2 separate regions of the Homo sapiens genome follow, and region 2 is linked to region 1. The links are contacts of gene promoters, found by promoter capture Hi-C in human tissues and cell types (Jung and others, 2019). All regions are on one chromosome and are shown on one strand. The core of a region is centred on a gene start or on the middle of the fragment in contact, and the rest is flanking DNA. Distances in the headings are between cores, read along the strand shown.

What was found. Contacts are between HindIII fragments. The study calls those that stand out against the background at their distance.
Region 2: a contact is called between the fragment with the promoter of KIF6 here and the fragment with the promoter of DAAM2 in region 1, in 1 of the 25 tissues and cell types used here (adrenal gland).

Annotation. Positions count from the first base shown.
Region 1 is chr6:39,790,116-39,796,345 of GRCh38, reverse strand. DAAM2 (dishevelled associated activator of morphogenesis 2) reads right to left here and starts at 3,970. Exons shown (of 25, transcript NM_001201427.2): 1 at 3,881-3,970. The HindIII fragment of the contact is 10,904 bases long and covers 1-6,230 here.
Region 2 is chr6:39,721,179-39,727,608 of GRCh38, reverse strand. KIF6 (kinesin family member 6) reads left to right here and starts at 2,201. Exons shown (of 23, transcript NM_145027.6): 1 at 2,201-2,364. The coding sequence starts at 2,299. RefSeq lists silencers at 1,961-2,160, 1,867-2,198, 2,411-2,480. The HindIII fragment of the contact is 25,522 bases long and covers 1-6,430 here.

The sequences.
Region 1 (6,230 bases), core at 2,721-5,220:
GCCTCTTAAAAGCTTAAAAGTCATCCCAGGCCATGGTTAAAGAGAGAGCTTGAACAAAACAAAAACAAATGTGATCTTCAAAATCTTAAATGTCAACTTGAAGGATAACTTACAAGCTTTGAGATGGGCCAAGAGGACCTGCAGCTGCTCTCTAACATCAGATGTTCCTTTGTTCCTTTGGAGTAGTCACTCCCTTGGATAATGTATCAATCAGGGTTCAGGGGGCAGCCTCCCACCCCATACCCACTGGAGATGTTTGCAATGACTAAAGCTTTCATTCTTTACAACCCATCAGATTCCCCCATTACTCTGACCTGAGCACCCTTGACAAGGAGTGGCTGCCTACCCGCTCTCTGACTCAGGCTTGTCCTTCAAGATCCAATTGGTCCTTGACCCTCCTGCCCTACCCCCACCTCCCTACCTTTCCCCTCCCCACCATACTTATACAACCTGCTCTTCTGTCCTTCTCCCTCCCTAAAGAGCACAAACACAAGAGTGATTTCTAGGCCAGACATCCAGGATCCCTGGTTTCTTCTCCCACACTTCAGGATAATGGACCAGGGATGCTCATGGAATATCTTCATTGGTCACCTTTTCTAGAGGAAGGAAGTAAGGATGATCAGAGCCCTAGAAACTCCACCCACTAGCCTTCAATCATGGAAAATATGTAGCTAGATTTGGGGAGAGGTTCTTTCCAAGCAATACTGGCTTGTGATGGCTGAAAAACTGAAAAATAAAAATACAGCACTCCCTTTATGAAGGGTCTTATAACATTCTGAGCTCTGTTCTTAGTTCTTGTGCATAAATGTTTTCATAATGACCTGGGGAGGGAAATACTATCCTTATTTTACAGATGAGGAAGCTGAAGCTCAGAAGGAATAAGTCATGTAGCCCAGGTTACTAATTCGTATTTAGGTCACAGTTCTCTCTCTCCAGGCAGCTGATCAGAAATCTGCACTCTTTCCATTGTTGTCGGGCTGCCTCTGAAGTCTAGGGCTGAATGACACAGGATCCTTGACAGAGTCTCTGGCTGTTGAGATCTAGAGGGTCATCCGCTATCAAAGCCAAGGATATCCTTCAACTTGTTCTTTCTGCCAGCTGTGTTTGCCCTCTGGACCTTCAAGGATGTCTTGGAATGCATCCCATCTACTTAATCTAATCTCAAAGATGACCAAAGAGCTGGCCAGAAGATTGAACTGATAGAATGAGCCATGAGAAGGCTTCAATGTCAGCCTAGGCATCCATGGCCTGGGAATTCATCCCGGCCATAGTGAAATGTCTCCTAGTACAAGCCCAGAAGCATCAGGACTCCACTGATCCCACATGCAGCACTCCCAGAAACCCCACATGTAGAAAGAGTTGAAAACCCAGTTCTTGCCCCTCACCTGTCCCTGAGGAGTTGTATGCTGGGATAAGAGTATTTCTGGGAATCCTGTTCCGAGGGGTCCCTTCTGTCCCTGGGTAGTCTTCTATGTTTAAATAATGGAAATGAATGAGAACATTTAAACTTGTTACTTCCATTGGCTCTAGTAAAATCAAATAAGAAAGCCTCATCTTTCATTATCTCTATGCTTTCTCTACTGCCTGTACTTACCCTTTATCTTCATTCTTTACACCTGGATCCAAGGCTCTTTAGTAATGGGGAGTTTAATCTGTTTTGCATCAAAAACTTTGGAGACAGTCGGGAAAGAAGACTGGGGAGAGAACATGTTCTCACAGCAAGCAGTAGTATTTCAACTTCCTCCACGCTCACCAAAAACAAAATCATTTACAGGCCTTCCTATTGGTCTTGCCTGCACAGCCTCCGCCTTCTTGAGCCCCTGACTCTCTAAGTTCTAATGCCCAGGAGAATGTTCTCTCCTCTTTTTGTCCTGATGGGGGCACGAGTATTCCCTCAGCATCCGAGGCGCTGGAGGAAAAGCTCTGAAAACTCAGCTGGGAGTTAGGAGCCAGAGTTTGCAACTACCAGGGAGCAAGACAATAATAGCACAGTTGTTTGCATAAAGGAAGAAATGGGGGTTAGATGGAGTTCCCAGCACAGATGAAGAAATAGACCATTTATCCTCCCATGTCTAAGGCCATGGCCATCACCACACAGTCATGTATGTGTAAAAACACATAGGCATGTGCATCTCATGGGGACCAGTCACTCCTGTTTACATGCACCCTTGTTTACATTGCCTATGGGATGATTTCCTCCTCCTTCATTACACTTCAGTTGACAACGTACTCCTGAAGTTAAATGAGTCTGTTTCTGACATTGCTGCCTGCTCCATCTTTTATGGAGCTTCCCTGGGGTTCAATTTATATAATTTCTAAAATCCTTCCTGAATCTTAACTTCCTGTGGGTCTGTTTTTACATCCAGATTTCCTCCCTGTCCCTTCATTTTCTCATTTTTCTAGGACAGAGGGAGAGTCCAGTAATCTTCCTCCCACCCAGACATTGTAGGTTGGCTCTACTGCAAAATACAAAACCAGAGACCTGGCTAGCTCAAAGCTGAAAATTCAGTCTGTCTGTGGTCACTCGTTTGTGGAACCCAGCTATTGACAGGCAGTGCCTGGCACTGTGCTACTCAGGGATGATGGATCGATACAGCCTCACTGCTGCTTTTTTCCCCTACTCTCCGTGGAGCACACTTTCCGCCCTAGGCCCTAGGGAAAATCCATCCCCCGCTTCAGCTGGCTTTGCAAAGAAACTCAGGAAACTAACACCAAACTCAGAAGGGGGAAAACACAAGACTTTGAACTTTTTAAAGATGGGAAGCTGCTTTCATTCCCACGTGGGCATCAAGGGAAAACCTATGGGGACTCTTTTCCGGAGAGGTGTGATTTTCCTCTAACCCTCCGAGAAACGTTCCAAATCCACTCCAAAACTGTGGAGAAGTGGCCGAGGCAGAGAGAGAAGAGTTAAATCAAGCCCAGATCTCAGCAATCTGTGTTCAATTTTGATAAAAATCTCCCTCTCCCCCACCGCCCCCCTTCCTCCACCCCACAGCTCAGACACGTCTCTTTATGTTAGGAGCTTGCATCTTGTTTGGGGCACCACACGCGGCACTCCTGGAGAACCTGGCACGTACCTCACCGTGGCCATGTGGCAGAACCAACCATCCCACTCCCAAGCTACGGCTGGACACAGGGCCACAGCGTCCTGGCCATCACCACCACCTCCCCCTCTTCCTTCTCATCCTCTTCACAAAATTACCTGCCGCCAGACCAAGTCCCTCATTCCCCGGTTAAGTCAGAGTCCCGACGCCTGGTAAAGTCAGGGCATGAGGTTGGTTTGCGACCGCAGGTGCTGAGAGCCCCAGAGTCCGGGGACCCCTTTCCTGAGATGCTCCTTCCCCCGCCCAGGGTCCCACTGCCACTGAGAACAAGAACCTTACGGCTGCCCTGCCCACTGGCCAGAGGCCAGGCCTGCAAGTGGGAGCTGGGGGCTTGTGAAGACTTCAGCCCAGCCAAGTGAAGGTTCAAGCCGAACCCGGAAAAGCCACCACCAAAAAGTTGTCAGTTTTGCGGGGTATCTTCTGTGTTTGTCCACTTGTGACAACCAGGGGTCAGGTTTCAAAGCCGCAAAAAACATTTTTAAAAAGTTTTCCAAAGACATTTCCTATGTCCAGATGTGCCAGTACAGACACACGCAATCACACTCATACACACACACAACTCACACACACACAGGCCCTGGGAGCCCACTCCGGGGTCGGCGGCTCCTGCAAACACTTTGGAGAAACAAAACCGCCAGCCTGCGGAGCTGCTGCCTCCCCAAGCCCCGCGGGGCATGCTAAAGAAAGCAGAGGGAGAGAAGTGTGGGAGCCCAGCGGAGAGGGCTCCCCGCGGCCCGGGCCCCAAGACGGGGAGCGCCAGGGCCGGCCGCACTTACTCCGAGGACCCCAGGGCGCCCGCGCTCCCGCAGCCCGAGGTACGGCGCCGCCGCCCGCGCTCCGCTCGCTGCTGCGTGCTCCGCGCTATCCCCGGGAAGCCGCGGCTGCCGCCCCTCCAGGCCCGGCCTCGCGCCCGTCCGCCCGCCCCGCTCTGACGTCAGGCGTCTTGGAGCGGGATATTTATGGCAAGGTTACTCTGAATTTTCCCTAGGTAGACTTCTGATTGCAGTTTCTTGGGATTTGTAATTTTCACACTTTCAGACCGAACGCAGGCGGGGGGAGAGCGCCACCGGCAGGGCGAGGCGTACAATGAGGGTAGCTGTTCCCCACTTTGGCAGGGAGCGTTCTCAGGGCCCCTTCTGTTTTGGAAACATGGAAGGGTCAAAGAGGCAAAAGTGGCCACCTGGGCAGCGGGTTTCTCCCCGGCTCCTCCTCTGGGCTACGGGCAAATGGCCTGGTCTGAGGCCGGCTCGGAGGTGAAGGTCCCGGTGCCAAGGAATCCCCTGTCCCTCCCCAAAGTGTCCCTGCACTGGACAGTGTGTCCCAAGGGGTGCTGGGCAAGACAGGAGCGAAATCAGGCACAACAGAACAGCTAATTAGGAGTCCTGGTCCACGCCCTAACAACTTTTCCATTTCTTTTTTGGGAGTGTATATATATTTTTTTAAGTTTATTTTTATTAAATTATGTTCCACACTCCCTGCCTCTGTATAGCTTTTCCAATTCAGTGCCAGTCAATTCATCTTACTTCATTGCTTGTATGCATAGTTTGAGCAGTTTACAATAGCTCTTATTCATACTTTTAAAATTTCCTTTTAGTTTTTTTTTTTCTTTTTTTTTTAAATGTGATTGTGGTCTGTCTCCTTGACTGAACTAGAGATTGCTTTGGTCAAGAGCAATTGTCCTCTCTGGGATTGGCAACACCCTCACGGGGAGTATTTGATCTTCTCTGTTTCCTATTTTCCCCAGCTCCCTCTGCAAGCAAATGGTGCCCCCACTGGGTGATGACCTGTATACAGTTTTCTGGGTGTTCAGTGGTTGTTCTGTGTTAGTGGTTGTCTGTTTCTCCACCTCACCAAAGGGGCTTAGGGAAATGGCTTGGTTTAAGGGCCACCCTTCCAGAGAAAAAAAGAGAATGTAATGCATGATCTTCCAGAGGAAAAAAAAAAAAAAAAGAGAATGTAATGTGTTATCCTTCATGGTTCCCAAGGATTGGAGAATGAAATGAACTTAAAATGATACACGTGAGATGCAAAATACTTATATGGTTAGACAACATAAGTGTTTAGGTATTCATCTCACCATGAATGGGAGGGGGCACGGATAATTGCAAATCATCATTAAAACACAACTATAGTGAACTTTCCATTAGCCCAAACTGGTAGAGGCGGGGTTGTGTTTTAACCACAGTTACAGTGCAGCAGGGACTCAAGGACTTGGAATGTGTTTACCTCTTTGGCAGCAGCTGGTTAGAGCTGATTGCCAGAAGGAGCTGTCTTAGGGCTGGGCCTCTCGGTAGAGGCCACGCTGTTTTGACCCAAGCCACCGAGGGCCCTGCAGCAGGGAGCTGCTGTTTGGTCACTGTGGGATTGCTCTCCCTGGCATAATACCCCACTTTTACCTCCTTCCATTCCCTCTCTCATATCAAGGCTCCACTGGCAAGGTGAGCTCTGTTCTTCAGCAGACCCTGCAAATAGGTTTCCAGAAGCCATTGACAAACCCATTCTCCCTTGCCTTTCTCAACTAAAGAAGTTAGAAATCTACAATATTCACCATCCCAGACTCCCTGGTAGCTCACAATTGCTATGAGACCAAGTTCTGACCAGTGAGATTGTAATACAGAAGACAGAGGATGCCTTCCACAAACTCTCTTTAAGAGAAGATCAGATTTGGCCAGGCGCGGTGGCTCACGCCTGTATTCCCAGCACTTTGGGAGACCGAGGCGGGCGGACCACGAGGTCAGGAGATCGAGACCATCCTGGCTAACACGGTTAAACCCCGTCTCCACTAAAAAATACAAAAAATTAGCCAGGCGTGGTGGTGGGCGCCTGTAGTCCCAGCTACTTCGGAGGCTGAGGCAGGAGAATGGCGTGAACCTAGGAGGCGGAGCTTGCAGTGAGCCGAGATTGCGCCACTGCACTCCAGCCTGGGCGACAGAGCGAGACTCCGTCTCAAAAAAATAAATAAATAAATAAATAAATAAATAAATAAATAAATAAATAAAAACACAAAAAAAGATAGGGCCAGAGACTCAGAGGTGGCAGGTTGGGGACATCATGAGGACAGAAACAGGGGAAGTGAGGCTGAGGAGCAAGCATTCTAGGTCTGGGAGAGGGGAGTCTCTCCATCCT
Region 2 (6,430 bases), core at 952-3,451, 67 kb after region 1:
TCATGTGCTTATTTGCCATCCATAGATCCTCTTTGGTGAAGCGTTTGTTCAAATCTTTGCACCCTCCCTTCACCTTAAACAAATGAATTGTTTGTTTTTCTATTATTAGGTTTTAACAGTTTGTATATATTCTGGATGCAAGTCCTTTATCAAGATACGTGTTTTGCAAAAGTTTTCTCCCAATCTGTAGTTAGTCTTTTTGTTTTCTTAAGTGTCTTTCAGCTGGGTGCAGTGGTTCATGGCTGTAATCCCTGCACTTTGGGAGGCTGAGGTGGGTGGATTGCTTGACCTCAGGAGTTCAAGACCAGCCTGGGCAAGATGATGAAATCCTGTCTCTGCAAAAAATACAAAAATTAGCTGAGTGTGATGGCACATGTCTATAAGCCCAGCTACTTGTGGGGCTGAGGCAGGAGAATCGCTTGAGCCCAGGAGGTTGAGGCTGCAGTGAGCCGTGTTCATGCCACTGCACTCCAGCCTGGGGTACAGAGCAAGACCTTGTCTCAAAAAAGAAAGAAAGAAAAAAGGGTGTCTTTAATAAACTTTTTGTTTTGTAAAAAATAATACAGAGAGAACTCGTATACCCATCTCCCAGTTTTCCCCAGTGGTAATGTTTTGCATAACTATAGTACAATATAAAAATCAGGGAATTGACATTGATACAATCCATCAATCTTATTCAATTTTATGTGACTTTTGCCAGTTTTACATGTGCTTATTTGAACATGTGTGTAATTTGTTCTATGCAATGCTATCACATGTGTAGATTTCTGTGATCACCATCACAGTCAAGATACAGAACAGCCCATCACAAGGATTTCTTTTATAACCATACCCTGCACACCTCCCTGGCAATAGTAATAGAACCATACGGTAGTTAGCTTTCGAGTCTGGCTTCTTTCATGAAACATAATTCCCCGAAAATTCAACCAATTTGTTACGTGTATCAACACTTCCTTCCTTCTTAATTGCTGAATGGTATTCCAGTTATTTTAAACTATCAGCTGAAGAACATCTGGGTTTTTTTTCCAGTTTGGGGCTATTACAAATAAAGGTGCTAAAACTATAAACACACATGCGCAGGTTTTTGTGTGAACACACGTTTTCATTCATCTGAGATAAATGCCCAAGAGTGCAATTGCTGTGTCTTAGAGTAGTTGCACCTTTAGTTTTGTAAGAAACTGTCAAACTATTTTCCAGAGTGGCTGTACCTTTATACAGTGTATGTTTTACATTATACATTCCTACCAGTAAAGTGCAACTGATTCAGTTTCTCCACATCTTTGCTAGCATCTGGTGTTGCCACTTTTTTTTTTTTTTTTTTTTTTTAAGCCATTCTGATAGATGAATAGTGATGCCTCATTGTGGTTTTAACTTATATTTCCCACGTGGATAATAATGTTGACTATCTTTTCATGTGCTAACAGTGTTTGAAGAGCTCATCCTTTCTTGCCGTGACCATTGTGTGGGAAACAGTCCCCTTCATCCAGTTTTATCCTTTTCCAAAACAGAGCTAGCCCCACTTCTAATTCCATCATGGCATAGTTTGTATTCCTTGGTTTTGATTTCCTGTTGAAAATCTGTCTCCTTGTCACTTGAGAGACCTTGTGAAGGAAAAAAAAAATCTGTCTCCTTCTTCAGACTGTGATCTCCAAGTGGGCTGGAGCAGTTCTGCAATCTTGGCTCACTACAGCTTCGACCTCCCGGGCTCAAGCGATCCTCCTGCCTCAACCTCCCGAGTAGCTGGGATACAGGCGCGCCACCACGCTTGGCTAACTTTTGTATTTTTTGTAGAGACGGAGTCTCACTATGCTGCCCAGGCTGGTCTCAAATTCCTGGGCTCTAAGCGATCCTACCACCTCGGCTTCCCAAAAACTGCTGGGATTACAAGCATGAGCCACCACGCCCGGCCCAGTGCTGTATTTTTTTTTAAAGGCAAGGGCATGGAGAATAAAATGGGTGAATGAGCGGGGCGGGGCAAGGCATGGTGGTTGTTCCCCTTTAACCACACGGTCCAGGCCGGGTCCGGCGCTAAACCCAGAGCCCAGACACTCGCTCATGCGCATGCGCAGCGCTCTCCTCTCCACCCCCGCCCTCCCCTCCCTAGCCCCGCCCCGTAGTGGCCTCCTTCCGGTCGCGACCAATTAGAGGGAGGAGGCGGGATCCTGGCTGCCAAGGTGCTCACTGGGTAGTGTCCCTAGCTACTGTTGCTAAGACTGTGGGTCGCCGGAGGTGGTGGGAGTTAGTTTTGGCAGCCCGGGCCTGAGAGAGGTCAAGGGTCATTGCAGAGCCAGGGAGGAGATGGTGAAGCAGACTATCCAGATATTCGCGAGGGTGAAGCCCCCTGTCCGGAAGCACCAACAAGGGGTACGGGCTGGAGCCTCCGGGGCGCCGGCGCGGCGGGGCCTCTTGGGCTGGGGTCGGGCGGCGGCACGCGAAGGGGCTGGGCGGAGGTGAGGGGCTTGCTGGTGGGCGCCGAGGCCGCCCGGAATCCCGCACACACTGACCGAGGAGCCCTGCAGCCGCGAAGACCCCCGCGCACTGCTGTCAGCTACGCGACCGACAGCCAGGCCACTCCTACCTGGCACAGCGCAGACCCGGCAGAGAGCCATTTTTTTTGCACCCAGGCACACGTGTTCACGCGGGGGCAGACTAGTGCATGTTCAGTATGCCTGTATAGTGTGCGCTTCAACTACACATAAGCACTTATTGCACCTTTCTGGGAAACTCACGCAGCACCGCACATGCAGATACACTCAAAGGTACATTTTGGCACTCGGGCAAAACGTGCAAGCAAGAGATGCGTGTTTATGTACCTCTGAAATAATACAAATATAGATAGACACAAATGCACAAAGCATACACATATGTAGTACTTTGCACCCAGTGGGGCCTCAGTAATTAGTTGACTGTTGTTATTCTCCAACATAAACGTGAACCTTTACATATACTCCTTGTATTAATAGATATAGGTAGATGCTTAAGCATCCTGACCCAAAGAATACGCATGTGTACTTCATTCAGAAACAATTAACTAAATATTTACCAGGTGCTTCCTCTAGTGTGCTAAATTCAGAAAGGTATAAAGAAGGTTAAGACATTGCCCTGACTCTGAGCAATGATACTTTGTATGCACCTTTTTTTTTTTTTTTTTTTTTTGAGACGGAGTCTCGCTCTGCCACCCAGACTGAAGTGCAGTGGCGCGATCTCGGCTCACTGCAAGCTCTGCCTCTTGGATTCACGCCATTCTCCTGCCTCAACCTCTCAAGTAGCTGGGACTACAGGTGCCCGCCACCACGCCCGGTTAATTTTTTGTGGTTTTAGAAGAGACCGGGTTTCACCCTGTTAGCTAGGATGGTCTCGATCTCCTCCTGATCTTGTGATCCGCCCGCCTCGGCCTCCCAAAGTGCTGGGATTACAGGCGTGAGCCACCGCGCCCAGCACTTTTTATGCTTCTTAAATATTTCAAAACATCCTCTCTTCTGCCTAGAAGGGAGCATAGTCATTCTTATGTATCTTGAGAAATGGCCACCTGACAGGTGCTTTATCTGCATTATCTCTCATTCTCACAAGAACCCTGCAAGGTTGGTGTCATTTTCCGCATTTTACAGATTAGGAAACTGAGTCTCAGGTTAAATAATGTGACCAAGGCACCCAGCTGGGGAGTGGCATAGCTGTAATTTTTTTTTTCAATTTTAGAACATTTATTTTATTCGTTATTATACTTTAAGTCCTGGGGTGCATGTGCAGAACGTACAGGTTTCTCACGTAGGTATACACGTGCCGTGGTGGTTTGCTGCACCCACCAATCTGTCATCTACATTAGGTATTTCTCCTAATGCTATCCCTCCCGTAGCCTCCCACCCCACGACAGGCCCCAGGGTGTGATGTTCCCCTCCCTGTGTGCATGCGTTCTCATTGTTCAGCTCCCACTTATGAGTGAGAACATGTGGTGTTTGGCTTTCTGTTCTTGTTTTAGTTTGCTGAGAATGATGGTTTCCAGCTTCATCCATGTCCCTGCAAACGACATGAACTCATCCTTTTTTATGGCTGCATAGTATTCCATGGTGTATATATATGTACCACATTTTCTTTAACCAGTCTATCACTGATGGGCATTTAGATTGGTTCTATGTCTTTGCTATTGTGAACAGCAGAGCTGTAATTTTAATTAAGGATTTTTGATTTCAAAGCTATCCCCTTTTCGGAAACCTTTTTTGCCTCTCAAAGTGACAATTTAGGCAAGGGCAATTTGGATCATATTTGTGAGTATATGGAGTGGGCATATTAATAATGTTGTATTCCTGTTCCATATATATACTGGGTATATGTCTATGTGGAATATCATAGCATCTCATGATTAAGCATTTGCCTCGTATAATTTATGTATTTAAAACAGGAATAAAGTGGTGTAGAAAGAACCATGGGTATCTTCCCATTTTCTCTCCTCTAATAATCACTTACATGCATTTCTTTTTAGAGTGCATCATATGTAAAAAGTGTATTGTATGTAACATTTCCCCCCAGATTCTTAGCTTAAACTGTTGAGCTTATCTACATGGGCTCAGCAGTCAGAGCAGAGGCTGGGATAAGGTCAAGAGACAGGATGGGTAGGGGTGGGGCTCAGGGAAGTGGATGGAGAGTCTTGGATTTAATACTGAACTTTCTTTTCTCTTAAAATGCAGTGTTTGGATATTTTAATGTACCTCATTTTGTATGTCTTTGGTGAGTCTGTAGAGTGGATTGTTTGATCCTCCAGGAAGTAGTTTTAGGTGTCATATTTTTAGGTGTCACACACACATACACACAAAGAGAATGGGAATGAATAAATATTGAATTAGTATATCCCTGTTCGCCCTTAAAAACTCCACAGTTTAATGCCATATCTTCTTGTCCGCAAAAGATTGTAGAGTTCTTTCTCTGACTAGAAATGCTTTTTGTAGTATTAAATTGAGAGTGACTCAAAGGAATTTTTTTCTTTCTCTTCATTTTATAGCTTCATTACTGCATTACTTTTATTCTTTAAGGCATCATAAAGTAAATTGTAATAACAGATTAATAAAAAGGATATATAAAATGAATCTTTGATAGTTTTAACAGTGGTAATGCTTTCCATTTGTACAGTGCTTTATACATTTCAAAACATTTTCATAATCATCCTTGCACTTGTTCTGTCTTCTTAAAAAAAAAACTTCACTATCTCAAATAATATTTTTATGAATAAGGATAGAAAGCCAATATTACACTAAACAAGTGATCTGGTTCTAAGGGACTTTTCTTAAGGCCTCAAAGAGTGTCTTAATCAGAGTAGTGGAGGGTCATTAATGGCAGTTAATATTCTTTTCTGTCTGCTGAGCAGAGAAATATAGACTTTTTAAAAATGGATGTAACTCCTCACTCTTGTATGTTTCATGTCTTATACACCCCCTTCACTCACCTGTCTGGCTATAAAACTTTTTTTTTTAATGTAGTGCCCAACAGGATATAATTTTTAAATGTCTCTTGAGAAAACCTAGCCAGAAAGCCTTGAACCTGATGCCATTGCTTTCTACAAATACTTTATTTTATGTAATGACTTTTCTGCATGAATTCTTCACATTTTAAATGAGAAGTTTCAATAAAAATATACTTAGGAAAATATTCAAACTTTCTGGAGATTTAGGTAGGCTTTTACTTGCTTAGGAATATGACTTTTTCCTCATAACCAAGCATCTAAATGGGTCTTAAACAGGAAGTATTGCCTGTTAGAAGGAATTTTATTTCATGGTAAAAGACAAGAAGCCTTTAAAAAAAAAAAAAAAACCTTTAAATCTAATGACTTTTTTTTTTTATGGTGCATTACAATTTTATGGTGATTTCCATTACATCATTTGATCCCCACAGCAATCTTGTAAGGGAGGTAATTCTGTTTTCCTCATTTTATGTACAAGGAACCTCAATTCTGAAAGTGGTGGCTGGTCACACAGCTGGTAAATTGAGCTCAGTGTTGGACCCAAGTCTTGGGACAAATCTTATGCTTTTATTTATTCCACATGACCTCTTTATAGGCTTGACTTTTAATTTTCCTGGCCAATAAAAATGATGGAGTAGGAAACCAGGAAGAGAATCAGAGAATGTTACAGTCCTAAGGGTGTTGGTTAAGACCCTCTATTTCCATATCAGCTTAGAAAGGCTTAAGGATTTCTCCCAGGTCACTTGCTAATTAGTGGCTGAGTTGGAAGGAGAACCTTGAAAATGACATCAAATACATGAATTACATGTGTCTTTTGAAGCCACATCTCTCTTATCAAATGCCTGAAAATGTCTCATGGAACCTTAGGCTTCTTTGAACATAACTTGAATTAGAGCATTCTTGGTGAGCTATCTGAGATGGCTCCAAACCTAGTCCCTTTATCTCTGGTATTTTGTAAATGCTCAGAAATGCTTATTGATT